Linked DNA regions of Homo sapiens: all the other regions are linked to region 3. The links are contacts of gene promoters, found by promoter capture Hi-C in human tissues and cell types (Jung and others, 2019). All regions are on one chromosome and are shown on one strand. The core of a region is centred on a gene start or on the middle of the fragment in contact, and the rest is flanking DNA. Distances in the headings are between cores, read along the strand shown.

The links. Contacts are between HindIII fragments. The study calls those that stand out against the background at their distance.
Region 1: a fragment that was not itself captured here is called in contact with the fragment with the promoter of VWA3A in region 3 in 1 of the 25 tissues and cell types used here (H1 embryonic stem cells).
Region 2: a contact is called between a fragment that was not itself captured here and the fragment with the promoter of VWA3A in region 3, in 1 of the 25 tissues and cell types used here (dorsolateral prefrontal cortex).

Annotation. Positions count from the first base shown.
Region 1 is chr16:22,032,857-22,036,373 of GRCh38, forward strand. All of the region lies in intron 1 of MOSMO (modulator of smoothened), which reads left to right. Among named protein-coding and RNA genes, the nearest start is that of MOSMO, 27 kb to the left of the region's middle. The HindIII fragment of the contact is 4,110 bases long and covers 1-3,517 here.
Region 2 is chr16:22,054,761-22,058,534 of GRCh38, forward strand. The region is part of intron 1 of MOSMO (modulator of smoothened); the gene reads left to right. Among named protein-coding and RNA genes, the nearest start is that of VWA3A, 36 kb to the right of the region's middle. The HindIII fragment of the contact is 8,498 bases long and covers 1-3,774 here.
Region 3 is chr16:22,090,204-22,094,008 of GRCh38, forward strand. It overlaps VWA3A (von Willebrand factor A domain containing 3A), which reads left to right and starts at 2,338. Exons shown (of 34, transcript NM_173615.5): 1 at 2,338-2,448. The coding sequence starts at 2,435. It overlaps LOC105371129 (a long non-coding RNA gene), which reads right to left and starts at 2,028. Exons shown (of 4, transcript NR_188624.1): 1 at 2,005-2,028; 2 at 1-45. It also overlaps a transcript of MOSMO not described here. The HindIII fragment of the contact is 3,787 bases long and covers 1,268-3,805 here.

The DNA.
Region 1 (3,517 bases), core at 738-3,237, 58 kb before region 3:
TTTATATATGGTGTGGGTAGGGGTCCAAACTCATTCTTTTGCATGTGAATATCCAATTGTCCCACTGCTACTTATCAAAAATACTATTCTTTCCCAATTGAATAGTCATGTCACCCTTGTTGAAAATCAACTGATCATAAATGTGAGAGTTTATTTCTGGAATCTCAAGTTTTTTTCCATTGATCTATGTCCTTATACCAGTGCTACATTATCTTGATTACTATAGCTTTGTAGTATTATAGGTTTTGAAATTGAGAAGTTTGAATCCTCCAACTTTTCTCTCTTTAAAAAATTCTATGGCTATTCTGAGTCCCTTGCATTTCCATATAAATTTTAGGATCAGCTTATCAATTTCTGCAACAACAATGACAAAAACCCAGCTGGGCTTTTGGTAAGGATTGCATTGAATCTGTAGATCAACTTGGAAGTATCGTCTAAGTCTTCTAATCTATGAGTATGAAATGTCTTTCTATTTATTAAATCTTTAGTTTCAGCAACATTTTATAGTGTTCAGTGTACAAGTCTTGTACTTTTTTTGTTTGTTTTTTTGAGAGGGAGTCTCACTCTGTCGCCCAGGCTAGAGTGCAGTGGCACGCTCTTGGCTCACTGCAACCTCGGCCTCCTGGGTTCAGGCAATTCTCCTGCCTCAGCCTCCTGAGTAGCTGAGATTACAGGCACCCGCCATGATGCCCAGCTCACGCCTGTAATCCCAGCACTTTGGGAAGCCGAGGCGGGCAGATCACGAGGTCAGGAGATCGAGACCATCCTGACTAACCTTGAAACCCCGTCTCTACTAAAAAAAAAATACAAAAAATCACCCGGGCATGGTGGCAGGTGCCTGTAGTCCCAGCCACTTGGGAGGCTGAGGCAGGAGAATGGCATGAACCCAGGAGGCGGAGCTTGCAGTGAGCCGAGATGCACCACTGCAGTACAGCCTGGGCGGCAGAGCGAGACTCCATCTCAAAAAAATAAAATAAAATAAAAAACATGCTCACAATACTTACATTAGCCTATAGTTGGGCAAAATCATCTAACACAAGGCTATTTTATAATAAAGTGTTGAATATCTCTTGTAATTTATTGAATATGGCACCAAATGTGAAAAACGAACTGGTTTTATAGGTACTCCAGTACATACTGGTTTTGCACGATGGTCAAGTTGAAAAACTGTAAGTCACGGACCACGGGGACACTCTATGTACATTTAGAACTAATCTAAGTTCACTTTCAAATGACACTATACCACTTAACAAGTAGTACAATTACTTTATAACAGAATATTCCCAATTCCTTTGTCCTCTTCCTTATTGCTGTCATTCATTTTACTTATCCATAAGCTGTAATCACTGACACATTGTTGCTATTATTTGTTTTGAACAAACTGTTGTCTGTCAGTTAGGAATAAGAAAAAGATTTTATTTTGCCTTCATTTATTCCTTCTGTAATGTGCTTTCTTTCCTTATGTAGGTCCAAATTTCTGACTGAAATCATTTTCTTTCTCTCTAAAGATTATCTGTTATCATTTCTAGCAAGACAAACTTTCTGGTGAAGAATTCTCTCAATTTTTGTTTGAGAAAGTCTTTATTTCTGTTTCATTTTTGAAAGATAATTTTACTGGATACAGAAGTCTAGGTTCATGTTATTTTTCTTTCAACACTTAAAATATTTCACTCCTCTCTCCTTGCTCGTGTGATTCCTGATGAGAAGTCTCATGTAATTCTTATCTTTGCTCTTCTGTAGGTAAGGTAGTTTTTTCTCTGGCTTTTTTCAGTATTTCCTCTTTATCTTTGATTTTCTACAATTTGAATATGATATACCTGTGTGTAGATTTTATCTCCCTTGATGTCTTTGGGGTTTAGAAACTGTTTTTTTTGTTTGTTTTTTTGGGTTTTTTTTTTTTTTTTTTTTTTTTTTTTTTAAAGACAGGGTCTCACTCTGTTGCCCAGGGCGGAGTACAGTGGTTGCCCAGTCTCAGGTGATTCTCCCACCTCAGCCTCCCAGGTAGCTGAGACTACAGGCATGCGCCACCATACCCAGCTAATTTTGTTTGTATTTTTTGTAGAGACGGGGTTTTGTCATGTTGCCCAGGCTGGTCTCAAACTCCTGGCCTCAGGTGATCCATCCTCCTTGACCTCCCAAAGTGCTGGGATTACAGGTGTGAGCCACGGCGCCTGGCCTAGACTTCTTAAATAAGGCCTGAGATCTGCAGTTCTTTGAGTTATATTCCCCTTTGATCATACAGGAGTCCTGTCAATATGAATGACGGTAAGGTACATGGGGAGGGGAAGAGTTCTATAATCCTATGAGGAGATCTCAGTCTTTGAGTGAGCCTGTGCCCTGGGCTGTGATCTTCACAAGTGCTTCTTGGTGCCTTGCCCCACTTAGGTGAGACAGGAAAGCTAGAGAGGGCTGGAGTTGGGTATTCAGTTCAGCTCCGGTGAAATAGTTTCTTTTCAGGCACGCCTTGTTGAAAACAGTGTGCTCTGGGCTTATTTCAAAATGACTTATTTCCCCTTTCCCCTGCCAGAAGCAGGAGGGGATTTTTTTTTTTTTTTTTTAATCTTCACTGTGAGGACCTCATAGGGCTCCTAGAGATAAAATGCAAAAATGTGCCCTCACTCTCCTTGCTCAAGCCTGGGCCCCTCTGGAATTTTTAACTCTCAGATTTAATCATACTGAGCCTCAGGAATTCCTCTTACAGGTTAGATTTTCCTACCTTCATTCAGGTTTCTGTGGAGGTTTTGAGGTTTCCGCACCTATAACTTGTGATTTTTTGTATCTACCTGTTTGTCTTTCCAATTTTGCAGGCAGCGGTTTGCCCTGTGTCTTCAGTTCTCTGATGGATTTAAGAAGAGTTGTTTATACTGATTTTGTTCAGCATTTTTCTTATTCCATGAATGAGGATGACAACTTGTAACCTCCTTACATGCCTGACTGGAAATCGGAAGTTACCTGCTTAGTTAAATTTATTCCTAGATTTCTTGTTTTGGGGTTTTGTTGTAGTTGTTACTTTTTTGTAGTTGTTTGCTTGCTGTTATATTATAAATGCATTGCCTTCTTAGTTTTTGGATTTCTCACTGCTAGTGTATAGGAATACAATTAATTTTTATATATTGGTCTTGTATCCTGCAATCTTTCTAAGCTTATTAGTTCTAATAATGTTTTAAAGAATTTGTTTTTGCGCTTAATTGCTCTAGATGTTACCTCCAGTACATGTCGAATAGAATTTGGAAAAGTAGAAATCCTTGTCTTTTAAATTTTATTTATTTATTTACTTATTTATTTTTTGAGACAGAGTCTCGCTCTCTCTCCCAGGCTACAGTGCAGTGGCCCAATCATGGCTCACCGCAGCCTTGACATCCTGGGCCAAGTGATCCGCTTACCTCAGCCTCTCGAGTAGCTGGGAACCATAGGTGCACACCACCATGCCTGGCTAATTTTTGTATTTTTGTGGAGACAGGGTCTCCTGATATTGCCCAGACTGGTCACAAACTCCTGGGCTCAGGAGATCCTCCCG
Region 2 (3,774 bases), core at 916-3,415, 36 kb before region 3:
ACCCACTATCTTGACTATTTAGAAAGAGAATCTACTAATTGGACACCTTTCTTTTTCCTTAAGACTGTTCACAGATTTTTTTTTCACATTTTCATTTTAGAGTAATAATTTGGGTCTTATTACTAAATTAAAATTATTTAAACATGTCAAAGGCATTTATCTCCATAAAGTGTTTAATCCATTCTAGTTTGTAAAGATAGGGGTTTTTTTTTTTTCTTTACATTTATTATGTCTGGTATAGATGATTAAAACTTTGTAAGCGTAACCTGTATTTAGCTGAGTCAGGAATTCTCTTAATAGTGTAAGTCTCTAGCCCACTGAAAAGTCTTGCCTTCTCTCCATTTGTTTTTGAGGGTCAACAAGTCTGGTCAGCTTCTGTGCAACATCATACATCAGTGTATTACCAACGGCCACTGCAAGGATTGATGCTGTTTCCACTGGGTAGCATGGCATCCGCCTGGTCACCTTAGTCAACACACTCCTTCTGCTTCTGTGTGTGTGAAGGAGTCAACACACTCCTTCTGTGTGTGTTAGTCAACACACACCTTAGTCAACACACTGCTTCTGGGTACTGCTACATCCACACCACTGTTTCCTCTAGGTTAAGTGTTGATATACTGTTATCTCCCAATGACAGGACGCTGAAATGAACTACATTATGCTCTACTGAAATAGTTTCATTTTATGTTACACCCTGACATTTACAGTACCACAACAGGATTGCCACTTCCTCCAGTATCTTGCAAACTTTTAAAGGAACTAGCTATTTTTCCTACTACCCTTGCATCCTCCTTGTGCTTAGATACAAATCCACCGGAGGCAAATACAAGTGACACCATGCAGTACTCAGAATCACTCCTTCTTTATGATGGATGGTAAAGACTTCATTACTAGCTTAACTTTGCTTCCTAGACTTTTTCTCTCATGAAAGTAAATTCTTTCCAGAACAATCATCAGTCTTTAATGCAAATAAGTTGCTTGAAAAAGATTTATCCTTGCAGCTCAAGTCCCAAAAATTCTATCCCATATCAGGTTTTGTAATGGAAAGTGGATCAGTAGGTGTTGCTCACATAGCAAGCTGATACTTGTAGTCATATCAACCTTTAGCCATCACTTTAGGGTGGAAAAGAAATGACTTTTCATTATGCCTCTCTTATATGCCTGTGTTTTTCACTAACTTTAGAGGAAGAGTAGTTAGGCAGCCTTACTGACTTGAATAGTACAAAGCATGCCAAAACTGTGAAGCTGTTTGGTGATATGTCCTCCACACTGTGGTCCCAAAAGACCAGTAAACCTAAAGGGACTAATATGGGCCGGCAGGGGGCGAGGCAGGGTAGAACCTTGGGGTATATTCCTGCTTTCAGAGAGGTGGCAAAAGTAAGCCTGGATACCCTGTGCTAGACTTTGTAGCTTTGCCCGGAAGCCCTCTCTATTTGGGGACTAGGCTTATTTAGTTCTCTTTCTAAAACGTTTTGACAAATATAACTTATATTCTAGGACATCTGCCACTGACGCCTGAGTTCAGACATTAATTGTCAATTCTGTAGTCTTTTTTTCCTTCAAGTTTCTCTTGTCGCTTCCTTTTCTCCCTCCTTTCTTTCTTTCTTTTTTTTTTTTTTTTTTTTTTTTTGAGACAGTTTCGCTCTTGTCGCCCAGGCTGGAGTGCAATGGCGCGATCTCAGCTCAACGCAACCTCCGCCTCCCAGGTCAAGCAATTCTCCTGCCTCAGGCTCCTGAGTAGCTGGGATTACAGGCATGCACTACCACACCCGGTTAATTTTATATATATATATATTTTTTTTTGGTAGAGACGGGGTTTCTCCATGTTGGTCAGGCTGGTCTCAAGCTCCCGACCTTAGGTGATCCGCCTGCCTCGGCCTCCCAAAGTGCTGGGATTACAGGCATGAGCCACTGTGCCCGGCCTTCTCCCTCCTTTCAAATTAGACAAACAAAAATATTTTAGTGTCTCTCTGATTTCTCTATGTTTACATTTCACTGTCCCAGGAACCAGCCTAGTCCGTTAGGAACCAACATACTCCCCAAGACACATCTCAAATGACAGTTTGCTGGCCATGTTAAAAATGCATTTCTGATTCTATTTAGGGATACCTTTAGTCCATGAAATAAATGAGAACATTATCAGGATTCATAATTATTATCTGGATATGTCCCTAAAATATAGCATGTTTTGCTGACTTACTGAAATACATATTTGTTTCTAGTTTTTTCTATTTCCCTTCCTCTCAAATAGTTAATTAAATAGTATCAGTGACCTAGGAAAGTCACTGTTCAAACAATTCCTTCCTTAAAATGAAGAATTATCGACTATTCTCTAACTTAGTATTTTAGAGAGAGAGAGAGAGTATAATGTGAAAAAATGTGGTGTCTTTATTCATTTTTTGTTGCTATAACAATACCTAAGACTGGGTACTTTATAAAGAGCAGAAATTATTTCTCACAGTTCTGGAGGCTGGGAAGTCCAAGATCAAAGTGCCAGCAGCTTAGGTGTCTGGTGAAGGACCAATCTCTGCTTTCAAGATGGGTCCTTGATGCTGCATCCTCCTGAGGGAGGAACACTGTTCTAACATGGCGGAAGAGAGTGAATTCATTCTCACAAGCTCTTTTTATGGCAGCATGAATCTGCTTATAAGAGTGGAGTCCTCATGACCTGAACACCTTCCATTAGGCTCCACCTCCCAACACAGTTGCATTGCCGATTGTTTCCAACACATGAATTTTGGGTTGCACATTGAATCACAGCATGTGAGTTCTCAAATAACAGACACAAAAGTTACATAGAAGAGATTGATAGTTCATTCACTTAATATTTATTGCAGACATTATATGTCAGGAACTCTGCTAGGCATTAGATATATATTGGAAAATAAGATAGATACTGGCCATATAGAGAACTTATCTAGCAGTTAACAGACAACAAAAAAATAAAAATAAATATAATTGTCATAGTGCTATAAAGGGAGAAATGTAGTTTTAACAGGAACCTATTAACAGGAAGAATTTACGAGGGAAGTCCTCCCTAGGAAAATGACATGTAAACTGGAAATGAAAGGAAGTGCAGGAGTTAGCAAGAACATGAGCAGGGAATAGTTCTGCCAGCAAAAAGAATAATGTGCAAAAGGCCCTGAAGTGGAAAAGAGTTTGGTGCTTTTAGGAGCTGAAGAAAACCAATGAGGCTAACTTGTGTAGAGCCAAGTGGGGGGAGTGAGATTAGATCTGTCTGAAAAAAAAGGCATAGTTCAGGTAATACAGGACCTGGTAGGCCATTGTAGAGATTTTGTTCTTTATCCTAACAGTGATGGAAGCCATTAAAATGTTTAAGGTAATGTGACAAAAATCAGATTGCATGTTAGAAACAGTTGTTCTAGGCCGGGTGTGGTGGCTCACACCCATAATCCCAGCACTTTGGGAGGCCAAGGCGGGTAGATCACAAGGTCAGGCGTTTAGGACCAGCCTAGCCAACATGGTGAAACCCCATCTCTACTAAAAATACAAAAATTAGCCGGGCGTGATGGCGTGCTCCTGTAATCCCAGCTACTTGGGGGGCTGAGGCAGGAGAATCACTTGAATCCAGGAGGCGGAGGTTGCAGTGAGCCGAGATCGCGCCACTGCTCTCTAGCCTGGGTGACAGAGCGAGACTCCGTCTCAAAAAAAAAAAAAAAAAAGAAAGAAACAATTGCTTTGCAGTATGAAGAAGAAAGGATTGGAAGGGATAAGAAATGAGTGCTGAGAATTTACTTTGACTTGGGTTGGGAT
Region 3 (3,805 bases), core at 1,088-3,587:
ACACCTGAAGAGCCTCCTGATCAAGCCATCCTAGAAGAAAGGAAGCTGAGAAAGGAAGACAGTTCTGTTAACATCACTTTAGCTTTTGGATCAAGTCATCCCTGAAGCCAGAACTATCTCTGGATTCTTGTGTTATTTAAGCAAATAAATTCTTTTTTTTCCTTAAACCAGTTTGAGTTGGGTTTCTATCTCTTTTAACTGAAATAAGCTTTACACTCCCACTTTCCTCATGACATTAAACACATTCCTCACCTCCCCTGCTTTGGCATGTCACTTTAATCTTTTCGTTAGCTTAGGCTTTTACAAAAGACAGAAAAAACAGTTACTTCAGGCTACTGCTTCTCAACACAACCCAAAGCACCTGCTCCTGGTTTGAAATGGGGGAAAGAAAGAAAACAAAACAAATTAATATCTGAAATATATATCCCACCATATTCCTGGATGGGACCACGCTAGAGCTCCTAAATAAAAGACCAGAGATGAGCTGACCCTGATCCATTTCCAAGAGCCTAAGGTAGGAGAAATGTCTGTTGTGCTCTGATGCTTTCCATGGATGCCATCATGATCTGCATCCCGAAGGGAGCCAAGAAAGATGGTACCCACACAGCTTTCCTCTTGATGAGTCATACAGTCTGAAAGCCTTACTCTGCTTTATCCACCTGGCAGAGATCTATTGAGAATGTGTGTTGTGTAGGCTCAAGTACAAGAAAGCAGGAACAAAGAGTTTCCAGTGTTGGACTTTACTTCTATGCACAGTGTTGAAAACCCATGTATGCAGGAAGCAAAGAAAGGTGTGAGGGTGGTAGACGACCTGCTTGGGGCTCCCGTGCCTAAAAAAAAAAAAATGTTGTCAAAATTAGCCAGCCCCTTCCACCCAAAATTTCCATCAAGATGGGCACAAGGACCCTCATCTCTTGTTCACCGAGTAGCCATTGGTTGCTCACAGCCACTTATGACCTTCTTACCTCTTTCTGATCTTCCTCATTTTCTGCCTTATTGGTGCTGGCCACATAACAAATGCTGTGGTCTTATACATGGTGCTCTCAACCCCAGTGACCAGTGGTTGATAAGGAGTTTCTATTTTGAGCACGTTGGTTGTTTCTGACCTGGCCTATAGGCATGGCTGCTGGGGTCAACATCTGAAGGGTGTTCCCTACCATATGATGACTACCACAAGTGGCATATGTTCTTTATTTTTGAGACAGGGTCTTGCTCTGTAGCCCAGGCTGGAGTGCAGTGGTGCGATCATAGCTCGCTGTAGCCTTGAACTCTTGGGCTCAAGCGATCCTCCCACCTCAGCCTTCCAAGTAGCTGGGACTACAAGCACAAGCCACTGTACCTGACTAATTTTTATTTTATTTTATTTTTGTAGAGACAGAGTCTCACTGTGTTGCCCAAGCTGATCTCAAATTCCTGGCCTCAAGCAGTCCTCCCGCCTCAGCCTCCCAAAGTGCTGGGATTACAGACATGAGCCACCACCCAACCTCATGTTCTAACTGATAAAACTTACAAGTTTATAAAACTTATAAAATTCTCAGAAAGTGAAAACTGATTTGAGAAATGACCTGGATATGAAAAACTAAGTACAGATCCTTTAGCGACTTACAAGTTGGTTGACTTTGGTGACATCACTTTGTCTCTCTTGACCACTATAAAAGAAGGGTTTGGAGAGATTCCCAGCTATGGGCCAAGGACTAGTTACATCATAATCACCTGGGGCCATTGTTAAAAAGTCACATTCCCACACCTTTTCACAGTTCTGAATCAATCTCCTGAATGGGAATGTTTTCCTAGCAAACAATCCAGGTGATTCTCATGGGCATCCGGGCTTAGGAACCACTGTGGCAGATGATCTCTTCTGATGCGAAGAGGTCACTGAGCTTGGCTGTGTTAGCCAGGTTTAGGTGGGGCTGGACCGGGTAGGGATAGGGGACTGTCTGACCTCTCCCAGGGACTGTGTTCAGGGAACCCAAGGGAATCTGAGAAGGAAGAGAAAGTTACCACCTTTGACACATGTGGCAGAGTTCTCTGGAACCTCTCCTCTGTTCCTACCACAGGAAGGCCACAGGCACGCACCAGGGCTGTACTGGCCTAAACCATAGTTCTGTGCTGACTGAGAGGTTCTGAAATTAGAAAAGAGGTCTAAATCCTGCTTCCAGGTTTTTGTGAGGTGGAGAAAAGCAGAGTGACCTGGGAGAAGTGGTTATCAACAACACAGCTGGTGACTTCTTCCCTGGGGTGAGGAAGGTTTTCCCTTTCCCTGCCCCGAGCTGCAGTGGTGCAGTCTGTTACCTTGGAGACCAGCTAACACATTCCCGCAGGGCAAGCTTCGCTGCTGAGTTGCTTGGAGGAGCTTGGAGAAACCAGAAGTGAGATCCAGGAGAAGTAAGGCCCTGGAGTGCCAGGAGCCCTTCTCCCAAAGATGGAGAAATAAATGAAGAAATACAGGTGAGGGTGAGCATCACAAGGGTTGACAGGGGTGGTGAGAGGGTGTCGGGGAGGCCAGATACTAAGCTCTGGACTGAGTGAGAAGATCGAGGGAGCTTGGGGTGTGAAGTGTCCACTCCCTACATGCCGAGCATTGGGCTAAATGCTGGGGTGCCAGTAGACAAGGAAGTCATGGAGCCGGTCTAGGAGACAGGCCATGACAACTCCATATGACCAAGTGAAGGGGCAGCGACAGGAGGACTTCCACAGGAGGAGTGGTTTCCTCCCTGGGGACAGCAAATGGGATTCAGGAAAGACTCCTATTATTATTATTATTATTTTCACCCAATAATCAAGGTTCCCTCTCTCCCTTGGACCAAAATGCCATCTGCCATGGCCTGGTTGTTCTTTTCCTCTCCTGCAATCACCTCCCAGGGTAATTCAGCTCACCTTTGCCTAAACTCTGGACCTGCTCTGAGTGCATTTATTCAACAAATGTTTTTTGAGCAGCTACTGTGTTCTAAACTCTATTTTATGCAAAAATGTCCTAGCTGTGAACATTACTAAGTCCCGGCCCAAATGGATCTACTTCTAGTATGTTTATGTAGGAGGGGTGCGCGGGGGTTCAGACAGTAAATAACTAAATATATAGAAAATTTAAAACAAGTAGATAAGCAAATATATAGAATGTATTTACTGTTAAGTAAATAAGTGAATATATATAGTGAAACATGCTGTGGGGAAAGACAAAGCCAGGTGGAGGAGGTGCTGTTTGAGTTAAGGTACTCACAGAAGACCTCTCTAATAAGATTTCATTTGAGCAAAGGCCTGAGGGAAAGGGCTGCGTCCTGTTCATGTCTATCTCCCCAGCACCCGTTCTCTCTGGCACGCAGTGAGTGCTCTATAAATGTTCATGAAACACATGATTGTTTTTGTGTCATATGCTGAAGTGCTTGAAGATGCAGCCCATATTTTATGGTATTCTACATTTGTATAGTACTTCATATTTCACAAAGCAGTTCTACTTTCTCAATTTCATTTGATCCTCTTGATAACAGCATTGAAGTAGGCAGGTCAGTTACTGTTATCCCCATTCCATTCTAAAGATGAAGAAACCAAAGGTTCAGCACTTTTTTGTTTGTTCGTTTGTTTGAGACAGAGTCTCACTCCAACACCCAGGCTGGAGTGCAGCGATGCGATCACAGCTCACCGCAGCCTCAAACTCCTGGGCTCAAGTGACCTGCCCACCCCATCCTCCCTAGTAGCTGGGACTACAGGTGCGCACTGCCATGCCCAGCTAATTTTTGTATTTTTTTTTTTTTTATATAGAGACGGGGTCTCGTTATGTTGGCTAGGCTACTCTCAAACTCCTGGCTCA